4 separate regions of the Homo sapiens genome follow, and all the other regions are linked to region 4. Evidence: promoter capture Hi-C in 16 types of primary human blood cells and fetal thymus (Javierre and others, 2016). All regions are on one chromosome and are shown on one strand. Each heading gives the region's core, a stretch centred on a gene start or on the middle of the fragment in contact. The rest is flanking DNA. Distances are from core to core; before and after follow the strand shown. Region 1 overlaps FMN1 (formin 1). Region 2 overlaps FMN1 (formin 1). Region 3 overlaps FMN1 (formin 1). Region 4 holds the start of SCG5-AS1 (SCG5 antisense RNA 1).

The links. The method cuts DNA at HindIII sites, captures the fragments that hold promoters and counts their contacts. A CHiCAGO score of 5 or more calls a contact.
Region 1: a contact is called between a fragment that was not itself captured here and the fragment with the promoter of SCG5-AS1 in region 4, in 1 of 17 cell types (M1 macrophages). The highest score is 5.1, in M1 macrophages.
Region 2: a contact is called between a fragment that was not itself captured here and the fragment with the promoter of SCG5-AS1 in region 4, in 3 of 17 cell types (M1 macrophages, M0 macrophages and M2 macrophages). The highest score is 8.2, in M1 macrophages.
Region 3: a contact is called between a fragment that was not itself captured here and the fragment with the promoter of SCG5-AS1 in region 4, in 5 of 17 cell types (M2 macrophages, M0 macrophages, endothelial precursors and 2 more). The highest score is 9.6, in M2 macrophages.

The regions. Positions count from the first base shown.
Region 1 is chr15:32,807,810-32,810,509 of GRCh38, forward strand. All of the region lies in intron 17 of FMN1 (formin 1), which reads right to left. The region is part of intron 1 of LOC107984089 (a long non-coding RNA gene); the gene reads left to right. Among named protein-coding and RNA genes, the nearest start is that of GREM1-AS1, 90 kb to the left of the region's middle. The HindIII fragment of the contact is 1,215 bases long and covers 648-1,862 here.
Region 2 is chr15:32,883,303-32,886,002 of GRCh38, forward strand. The region is part of intron 16 of FMN1 (formin 1); the gene reads right to left. Among named protein-coding and RNA genes, the nearest start is that of GREM1-AS1, 170 kb to the left of the region's middle. The HindIII fragment of the contact is 7,337 bases long and covers 1-2,700 here.
Region 3 is chr15:32,914,701-32,917,449 of GRCh38, forward strand. All of the region lies in intron 10 of FMN1 (formin 1), which reads right to left. Among named protein-coding and RNA genes, the nearest start is that of GREM1-AS1, 200 kb to the left of the region's middle. The HindIII fragment of the contact is 4,132 bases long and covers 1-2,749 here.
Region 4 is chr15:32,671,792-32,674,504 of GRCh38, forward strand. It overlaps SCG5-AS1 (SCG5 antisense RNA 1), which reads right to left and starts at 1,274. Exons shown (of 4, transcript NR_135505.1): 1 at 1,199-1,274. All of the region lies in intron 10 of ARHGAP11A-SCG5 (ARHGAP11A-SCG5 readthrough), which reads left to right. All of the region lies in intron 2 of SCG5 (secretogranin V), which reads left to right. The HindIII fragment of the contact is 5,358 bases long and covers 1-2,713 here.

The DNA.
Region 1 (2,700 bases), core at 5-2,504, 140 kb after region 4:
AAATGAGAAGAAATTAGAGATTTAAATGTTCCCTAATTTTGCCCTTGTACAGATACAAAAGGCATCTACCTTTATGGTGTGACTTGGAAGCTCTAACAGCATGAAATATTTCTCCTACTTGAATGTGTAAAATTTTAAACCAGGCCATTACACATTTTAAGTCTTCAAGATGCTCTAAGCAAAACACAAATACATGACCTGGAAGAACCATGTTTAAAGACTGGAGTCACAAACTCAAATTCTAATACCATCAACAAATAAGGTCACTGTGGGCCAAGTATAAGAATCCCGGTGTTCCAACGTTCTAGTTCTAGCTTTTCAATACGGGAACTATATATCATACAATTGCTCCACAAGAACAATTCTGAAGTTCATAGTTCCACAGCCTACCAAGTGAAGCAGAAATGGCTTTCTATTCCATGGCTATGGGCCCAAGGAATGCAAATCAGAACTCATGATAACTAACTGCCAAGCTTTAACCCTAGCTGTGTCACCTGAGTGTCATGAGCCAATCACAGTGTCCTGTGTTTCAGTCTCCTGCTCTGTCAAATGGAGATGATGATACCTACCCTCCCACATAGTTGCAGCCAGTCTTTGCAGTCAGGTCTTTGACAGTTCAACGTCATGCCATGGCTGCTGGGGGTTCAAGCTTCCAGTGGGTTGGCTGTTTTGCCAGAGTTAAATGAAGTGTAGCATAGAGGAAAGAGCTTGGGTTTTGCACCAGGTGGACCTGGGTTTAATTTCTGCTCTGATACTTATTAACTGGGTGATCGTCAGAAAATCACTTAACTCCACTGAGCCTTATCCGTAAAATGGGAATAATAAGATCTACCTTGCAAAGTGCTTGTGACTATGAGATATACTGAACGTGTGAGATTAATCTAGTGACTGACATATGATGGGCATTCCAGAATGGCAGCCATTTATTGTCTATTGGCTAGAAGCAAATGCTAGTAGTCACTACTCTAGCTTTCTGACTTTTTGGCATGGTTATCACAAAATTGCACACAACATGCTTTCTTTAGAATGTTCATAACTGCTTTCAGTAGACAAGAATTTTGGTTGTTATCATTTATGCTCAAAACTTTAGTGTTTTTTTTTTTTTCATTTCACTCACTGAGCTGATGTCCTTAGCATGGCCTGTAAAAGGCTTTTCTACAAAAGGGTGGTTCCCTATGTCTGACCTAAAGTCATTTTATTTGCTGTTTCAGCTCATTTTGTTTTATTTCATCCTCAGGAGAAAGAGAAAAACTTATTTATAATTTAACAAATAACTGGGAGTCATGGGGGTGGATGTGAGGGGAGAGGTACTTAATGATTACTCTCACCTGTTTTTTCCCCTTAATGACCATGGAGTTCTGTAATCTTTGACCTGATTAACTGGATCACTTCCCCAATACCAAATAAAAGACAATGATACAGGAGTCTTTTTTTGAGAGGTTAAGTTTTCTGAGAGCTAAGATTCCTTCCTTAACCTCTAGGCTCTATATGGTGACCTGTAACAGGTTCCCCTCATTGCACAGTAAATTCAATTCTCTTTGTTGCCACCAAAACTGCCATTTTAGAAGGCAAAGTGAACTATGCCCCTTTTCTGCTTAATGTTCTCACTGGTTCCCCCTCTGAAGACAAAGTGCATTTGCAGTTCACAGTGTGCCCCTCACACCTGCCTCCTGCCATCCCCATACTATCATCCCCAGAGCTCCTGCTGCGTGGGACTCATGGCTGGTCTCTGGACTTAACTTGCTGCATGGTGTCTTTATTTTTGGGCACTTTGCTCCTTCTGTTTCTAATGCCTTCTCTTCCTTGCCCTTCTCCCTTCTCCTACCCTTCTGTTTGAATGTCTTCTCTTTCTTTGAAAACCAAGCTTGAAAATCTCCTCTGAGGGGCCCTCCATGCCTCTCCCCCATAATGTGGTGAGCCGTTCTTTCTGTGGAGATCCAAACACACTATCTCCCCACAATTCCTTATCACAGCACACAGAATGCTATGTCAAGGTCACTGGCTTGCAGCTGGCTTTTCCCACTGGACTCTGTGCTCCTTTCAGAGTTGCAACCAAAATCTGTTTTCAGAGTTTTTCTCTCAACTATTACCTAGCAGGTACTCAAATACTTATTTTTTTTTTTCTTTTGAGACAGGGTCTTGTTCTTTCACCCAGGCTGGAGTGCCGTGATGCAATCTCAGCTCACTGCAACCTCCATCTCCCGGGTTCAAGTGATTCTCCAGCCTCAGCCTCCCAAGTAGCTGGGATTATAGGCACGCACCATGGCTGGCTAATTTTTGTATCTTTAGTAGAGACAGGGTTTCACCATGTTGGCCAGGCTGGTCTCAAACTCCTGACCTCAAGTGATCCATCTGCCTCAGCCTCCCAAAGTGCTGGGATTACAGGCGTGAGCCACCGTGCCCAGCCTTGTGTACTTATTTGACAGATGGAAAAGTACACAACAGAAGAACCCATGTTAGCAGAACACAGTCCCTACTCATTAAGTGCCTGTTTTTTGGCACAGAAATTTCTAATCTTCCATCTTTTGTTTGCAACAAAATAGTGAAGAGTAGAGTAGAACTGAAAAGCAAGAGATTACTATGCCCATCCTATGTCCTGCTTTTAGACTGATACATTAACACAGGCACAAACAGCACTAACACTATAGGGAGGCACAAATAGCATTAACCCTCCAGTTTCGTCTGTATCAGATTGAGTCT
Region 2 (2,700 bases), core at 158-2,657, 210 kb after region 4:
AGACTAGCCTAGGCAACACAGTGAGACCCTGTCTGTACAAAAAATACAATTTACAAAATTAGCTGGGCGTGGTGGTATACATCTGTAGTCCCAGCTGCTTAGGAGGCTGAGGTAGGAGGATTGCTGGAGCTCAGAATATTGAGGTTTCAGTGAGCCATGATTGTGCTGTTACTCTCAAGCCTGGGCAATAGAGCAAGAACCTATCTCAAAAAAAAAAAAAAAAAAAAAAAAAAAAAAAAAGAATGAGATCAAGCGGTAAGTAATGACATGTGGCCTTGTTTCTGCTAAGTCAGACCTGCCCTCCCCTACGTTACTAGAGATCCTGACTCCTGCAGGCAGGACCCAGTAATATCATTTCACCAACAACCGTGTTGCTAGTACAATCAATATCCTTTCTTCTTAAAGTACCTTTTACACAACTTATGCTCTGTAAAAATATTACTAAGTAGACAATGAAAGGGAAAAGAAAGCAAGCCAATGTTTCATGCTTTAAGTTAGGAAATGCTGTTTTAAACAGCATTAAACTTTTTTTTAACTACAGAACTTCCCAGAGGCTTTAATAAGCTCATGTGCTTTGAATCCCTAGGATATGATTTTCGTACAGAGCATGTCCAGGTTTATTTGATCATAGACTCTTTCAGAGAACAACAGTTCCAGTTCACATTTCAGGTAATATTTTTAGGTGCTACTATTTGACGAATCCTACATCTATAGTTTCAGCAATGCTGCACGCGCATGTGTGTGTTTGTGTATGTGTGTGTGTCTGTCTCTGGTATTAACTGGTGCAATCAGAAAGAAGAGTCCACTCCTTGGTGTATTAGTTTCTGATTGCTACTATAATAAATTAGCACAAACTTAGGAGGCTTAAAACACCAGAAATATATCACCTTTTAGTTCTATATGTTAGAAGTCTGACATGGGACTCACAGGCTAAACTCAAGGTGCTGACAGGGCTGTACTCCCTTTTAGAGGCTCTAGGGAGAATCTGTTCCTTGCCTTTTCCACTTCTAGAGGCTTCCCACATTCCTTGGCTCACGGCCCACTTCCTCCATCTTCAAAGCCAGCGACATTACATCTCTCTGATCATTCTTACGTCGTTATATCTCCCTCTGATCATAGCCAGGGAAAGTCCTCAGCGTTTAAAGACTGACTTTAAAGATTCATGTGATTAGATTAGGCCCACTTGGACGGTCCAGGATAATCTCCCCATGTCAACATCAGCAAAGTCCCTTTTTGCCATGTAAGGCAACATGTTCACAGATTCTAGGGATTAGGGTTTGGACATCCTTGGGGGGCATTATTCTGCCTACCACATATGGGTGGGTAAGAACACCCTGAGAGTTCCAGCCAGCAAGGACAAAGAGGGAGAATGAAAGTAACTATTGCCATTGTTTGTGTTTTCTCAATTATTGCTTACAACTTCACAGTATCAGGGAAATTGAAATTATTGTCTTGTTAAGGGATGTAGAACAATAAACAAAATATGGAACATGTTCCCAAGCACCAAGAACTTGGTTCTCTCTTTACAATGTAGAGAAGCAAGCACAAGTGCTCTGTGAATTAGATACTCCACAAACATAGCCAGCTGGCCTCTCAGCAACACCGGCTGATTATACAGGCTGTGCACTTTCCAGTGAAAGGTACATGCCCTTAATCAGCTTTATTGAAGCTGCCCTCACTAAGAAACTGTGCAGACATTATTTCCTATGATGCAGGTCCTATAACTGTCCCATTTTACAGGTGAGAAAGTGAATACTTTCTACGATTATGCTACTTGACAAGCTGTTACTTTCACTGAACCAGTAAAACATACACATCTGAACTCAAAGCCTGATCTTAGTCCTATGTAATGTGCCTATTTGTATGTCTATTTGACAATCCATCTACCTGGACTTCTTCCCCTTTCCAATTCCAACCCAAAGCAAGTTCCTTCCTGTGACTCTATCTGATCTGACAGTCTACATGTGTGGTTTTGGGAGTGTGTGCACACGTGTGCATGCTTGTGTATATATGTTCAGTAACTCTAATTTTTTTCTTCATGAGGCTTCACATTTTGAATGCCAAAACTTTCTGTCTGATCTCCAATCAGATGTGGTGACTTCTGGGTCACAGGCGTGATATGTATTGAACACATGCCTTAGAAGTCGTATCTAGTTTCAAAACTTGACTAGATCATCACCTCTGAAACACTGGCAAATTACTTGAGCACCACAAACTTCAGCTTTCTTATCTTGTGAGAAGTCAAAAATAGTATCTGCCTCACAAGGTCACTGCAGAATTAAAAGAGGTGATATAGATAAAGCACTTGATAGATAATAATGACACAATAAGTTGCAGTTGATACTATTATCAATTCCATGCTACGTTTACCTGCATAAAAATGCCATTCAAAGTTCTTGCCTCTCTGAAAGATGCTTAATGACAACTTCTACTTAAATCAGTGACATTAGTATGACCAATAACCATAGGTTAATTCACATTAGGTTAAGGTGTGTTAATACTATTTTTTTTTTTTTTTAAAAGACTCTGCCTGCCTGGAGATCTAGGGCCTGATACTTCTTGAAATTTGCTAATCACATCTGGTTTAGCTTTAGACATTTTCTGGGATTTTGCCAGCAGCTACGACACTTTAATGGCTACAATAAACCTCAAAGCCTCATCAAATCTTTGCTGTATGTGTGAAAATTATGTCCTCTTCAA
Region 3 (2,749 bases), core at 8-2,507, 240 kb after region 4:
ATAGGGCAAAAAAGAAAGACACTACAGAGCACTATTATAGTGACATTGCTAACTAGCTCTGGGGACTTAGCCTGAAACCACTCTGAGGCTTTGAGCCTAGGTTTAGGGGAAGAGCTTTGTACCATCCCCCCAGAAACAGGCAGAGGAGTCTAAGAGGTGAGCATGACTACTGATCTGTCCCCCAGGGACTGGGAAAGGAATGGAGTAGAGAGGAAAGGACAGGTAAAAGAAGTAGATAAACAGATGAACTTAGGGCCAATGCCAAGTATTCCACTGAAGTTTCTCCTCTTCCACGGAAGGATCTTAAAAATAAAATCTAAAAAGTAAAAGAAAATTCAGAGGTAGCAGAAGCAATATCAAGAGATTGATACTGAGCCTAGAACTTATGGAGATTAAATTAGTTGTATTATTTCTAATAATATTGGCCTGGGAAGGTTAGGGTATCAGCCAGAAGTCTGAAAAATAAAAAGGCCTACCAAGTCCTAGGATGCCTAAGAGAACTGCCTTACATGTACATAATCCCATGTCTTAGTCACCAAATATAGTTTAGGTTCCTAGAGAGCCAGAATCCACACCTGATAATTCTATTCTCAAAATACTGGAACAACGTATTAGAGAATCAATGAATGCTCTCCGATTAAGTCATTCTTGCAAGCACTTACCATTAAACTTATTAGCCATTACATAAGCCCAATTAATTAGTTAACTAATTTGTAATCATAATGATCACAATGTGGAAAGAAGTCAGTCTTCAACTAAACTATTTTCGGCGTCACCCAAGATCAGATCGCTCCCTCCATTTTATACTTTGAAAACACTCACTTTCTGTCTCTGTCTCTTCCACGCATGTGTGTGCACACAGGCACACCGCTCATAAACTGAACCAACAAATACAAGCCTATGCAATTTTACAGCAAGCCTCAAAGCTCTGATACAGTAATTCCAAGTAATCCTACTTTTGTTTCCATCTGTATAGGTCTCATTATACTAACACTCCTGCAGATGGTGTCAGAAAGGTGAAGTGTCAAGTCCACAAAGGGGAGACCCCAACAGCTCATTGCTACTGCAATATCAATCACTGCTGGTGGTTTTTACTTTTATCTCCTTCCCTCCTTAGTTGTCCCACTCACACTGTCAGTTCGGTTAGAATATTTCACCTACACCTCACAATATGTCAAAAGGAAGTAGACACACGCTGTGAAAAGCTGGTAATTTTATTAGATTCCTTTACCTTTAAAAATCTGTTACTTGGTCAAGTCTGGTTTCTGGGCTTCTTTTTTGCAGGGAAATTGAGGCAAACATTTTTATGTGGTCCTCTGGTGCCTGCTCTGTACCACAAGAATTATATACACAAGGATCATTAGAGTAGTGTTTCGCCCATTAAGATATAATAACCGTCAGCAGGGACAAAAAGCAGATCAGTATCACAAATTCAAACTAACAGGCACACATAAAAACTATGTGCCTGCTTTAGGGCACATGCAAGGGGTCAGGGTCTCATACAACAGGGAAAATTCCCCCTCCGGGTAAGAGATGGCTTTTCACAAGACCAGGGTTAAGTAGAAAGAACATGCAGGATTCTCTCAGCTCTCCAGCCATTTTTCAACCCTGAACACTTCTCTCTCCAAGTGTACCATGCCCATATAAACAAAGAATGCACTTGCTGTTCGAAGGGCTTCTAATGAGTAAAAAGACAGGCAGAGTTATTTAAGGGAGTTGTTCTCTTTGACTGAGGGAGCACCTCTGAGCAAGAAGCATGGGACACGGTGGTGAGAAAGGCATACCTTGTATAGTCTGTTAAGATTAGCCAAAGTAAATCTGGTCATCCGAAGTGTGGGAGATGCCACAGGTAGGTAGGGTTGGGTTGGCTCACCAGGTTTCGGCTGACGGTGGTTTTGAGAATGATTTGTACGTAGCCTGTTTTATTCTTCTTTTTATTTCCTTAAGTGACTGATGTAAGCCTCTTGCACAAAGCGGGTATGTAATAATGTTTTGCAAATGGACTAGATATAGTCTGGTCCAGCCCAGGAAAGCAAAGTTTGATAGGATTACTTGACTCTATTAGCAGAAATTATTTTGTTTACAATGTTAACTCTGCAACAGCCAAAATAAAACTTAGCTGCTTTGCCCAAAATACTGGTATTTTTCAGAACTCGACAGAAATTCAATCAGTAAGAGAAAGAGAACAGAGCAGGGAAAGAAATATAGAAGGACTTGGTTTTTTGAAACTCTCATGTCACCTATATCCCACAAAACTCTGACAAACCTACTCCGTGACCTCTACAAAGGCAACGATAACATGGGGTTCATGGGAAGAGGCAGTAGTACAATCTGAGAGTTGAGGAAAGGGAAGGCAGAAACATCTTCCCACAGTTTTCCCTCCCAACAATGAGGTCATCCTTGAGAGCAAACACCAAGTCTATGAAAAAAACTGCAAGAAGTGGAAAGAAGGGGAGCCAGTAGAGAGGGGTGTGGAGCGTGGAAGGACCACTCGGAGGCAAGGCCAGGGGACCGTACAGATCTGCTCCCGCTGAAGAGCTCTGTAACAAGCCTCTTCAAAATGGTCATAGTTCTCCTACAACCTATACCTTGTGTTTCTCCTACTGGACACTAGGTTCCACCTCCAATAAGCACCAGGCCTACCTGTGCAAACCCAGATATGCACAAATCCTCACTCTATGCAAGTATCCAAATGAGACGCTTAAGGGCACCAATTAAGTAGCAGCTTAAAAGAATCTCTGTCCACTCC
Region 4 (2,713 bases), core at 24-2,523:
GGTGCCTGCGGCCGGTGTCGCCTCAGGGAGTCCCAGGCTGTTCTGTGGCCTCCAGAAGGAGCCACCCCGCCCCTTCCTCGCCCCACTCCGCTTTGCCTTCCCTTAGCCTGGGGAGCCTTGCCGCCTCTCCACCTTCTCTCCTGGTCTCCTCGGGCGCTCTCGCGCTGGCACCTTCAGCTCTGTCAGAGTCTGAGGGGAAACCAAAGGAGGCCAGGCGGTGTCTGGAATGCCCCATCCGACTGCTTCAGGCTCCCAGACCGCTGACAAAAGGAAAACTGGTCCGTCGCTTTCTGAATGATGTATCGAGACCGCAGTGTATTTTTAGCATCTGCTGTTTGTGGTAACATAAGTGAAAACTGCTGGACCCGTTCCCTTCAGCTGAATGGCTGGTATTCAGGGGCCTGTGCCCGCTCCCTGCCAGACGCTCCTCACAGAACTCCCTTTTTACGAGGTGGGCGACTGGCTCCCTGGCACCAGGCTGCCCCACCACAATTCTTTATTGCCCAGCGCCAGTGCCCAATTGCATGAATCCCCAGGGCTGCAGGCAGCGTGAGGGGTGCGAATGGGACGATGCTGGCTGCGGGCTTGTCAGGGTGTTCCCAAGTTGTGTGGCAGAGTCTGGAGGGCAGGGGTTGTCCGGATGTTCCAAACCTCCAGCGTGAGGTGGGCACTCAGGTGCGAAGGAACCATGGTGGCGAGGCCCACAGGTGGCGTCCCATCCCAGAGCCATTTTGCCGGGGCCTGGCTCTGCAGTAGTCACTGACACCGGAGATCCCCTGAGTGACCTGGAAACTATGAGAGACCCCAGGTACCCCGACAGGTCATTCTACTAACTGTGGCTGTGGAGCTCCAGCTCATCTTTGGAAGACGGAAACGCACTGGAAAGGGTATGAATGGACGCAGAAGGCCTCGTGGGGGCTCTCTCAGTGCCACTGTAGAGTGAACACAGGGCTGGAATCCAAAATAGCACCAACTTGCTGAGTGGCTTTAGGCAAGAAACCTTTCCCCAGGTCTCACTTTCTCACTTAGAATGATGAATAGTGATTCTTGTCCTACTGACCTCACTAGGACGTTTTTAATAAGGATGAAAGCACTTTGAAACTGTTGAAACCATAACATCACAAAAAAAAAAAAAAAAAAAAGAGACAGAGTGACGAAGTAACGCAGGTCCCATTTATGTTCTTAATTTCTGACCAACCTTAACTTCCATCAAAACTGCTTCCACTAGCCCCAGCCAGGAGAGCCGTTGCATCGTGGTGGGACATCATCAGGCTCTCCAACGGACATCGCTTATACTATGAGAACTCACGTTCAAGGGAGGTGTTTACCTCTAATTCCCACAGAACTAGCGTAAGTAAAAAATGGGGCAGCAGGATCCTTTCCTTGCAAAGTGTGAGCAAGTGCCTCTGTAGAGTAAAACTTTAAGTAAAAGGACTACAACGGCAGTGACAGCTCCTTTATCTGAAACTGCAGACTTTTAAGAAGGTTCTTAGCAGCCACACCGATGTCACAAATTCCATAAAGCAAGATCACCTAGGCACTCTCTCGGAGCTAATTTTATCTCATTTTATATATAATTTTAATAAGCCTGGCTCTCTCATTTTCTAGCCCCTTATTACTGAAAATGTGGCTCATGGACCAGCAGCATCTGCACTATCTGGGAGCTTGTGAGGAATGCAGAATCTCAGGCCCCACCCTTCACCTTGAATCAGAATCCACATTTGGATAAGATCCCCGTGTGTGTGTGTGTGTGTGTGTGTGTGTGTGTGTGTTGTGCGGGGGAGGGTAAAATTAGAAGAGACTTGCAGGGCCTAGGCGCACTCTCAATTTATTGTATTTCATTATGGAAAGGATTTGGGATGACTAGAATTAATAACTTAGAAGGAGTGAGGTGACAAAGAACATTAAAAACTATTGCATCTGGGACCATTTAATATAGGTTTGTTTGTTTGTTTGTTTTGAGACGGAGTCTCACTTTGCCGCCCAGGCTGGAGTGCAGTGGCATGATCTCGGTTCACTGCAACCTCTACTCCCCAAGTTCAAGTGATTCTCCTGCCTCAGCCTCCTGAGTAGTTGGGATTACAGGCGCCTGCCTGTAATTGTATTTTTAGTAGAAATGGGGTTTCACCATCTTGGCCAGGCTGGTCTTGAACTCCTAACCTTGTGATCCACCCGCCTCTGCCTCCCAAAGTGCTGGCATTATAGGTGTGAGCCACCGCACCCGGCCCATTTAATATAGTTTTATATCCGAATGCCCTTTAATACTCTGAGAATACACTGTTACAACACTGTATAGTCATTGATATTCCCAGTAATAGTCCCAAATTATCAAGAACAGGCAAAGTCATATTCTCCTGCTGTTTAAAGTATTTACCTAATGTTCATAGTGGAAAATTCTCCTTTAAAATGGTTAAATAAATCTTGATCTTAAACCGATGCTTCAGTGATCTGAATACTACATGAAACAGCACGTTCTCTCTAAAGAGATAAGTGAGATGGTACTATAATCGGAAACCTCTGTTAATTCGGATTTTGTTTTTTATGCACATTTTAGAGAGTCAAATTATATCAAGATAAAATATGATAACAGAGATTTACTCTAAAATTAAACAATGAAAAAAACCCTACCAGTGCAACAAAAAGGCCATGGCTGTTCAGAGCCAAGTAAAACTTTGGGGGTCAGAAGGTATTTAATTTTCATATTTCTGTTTAC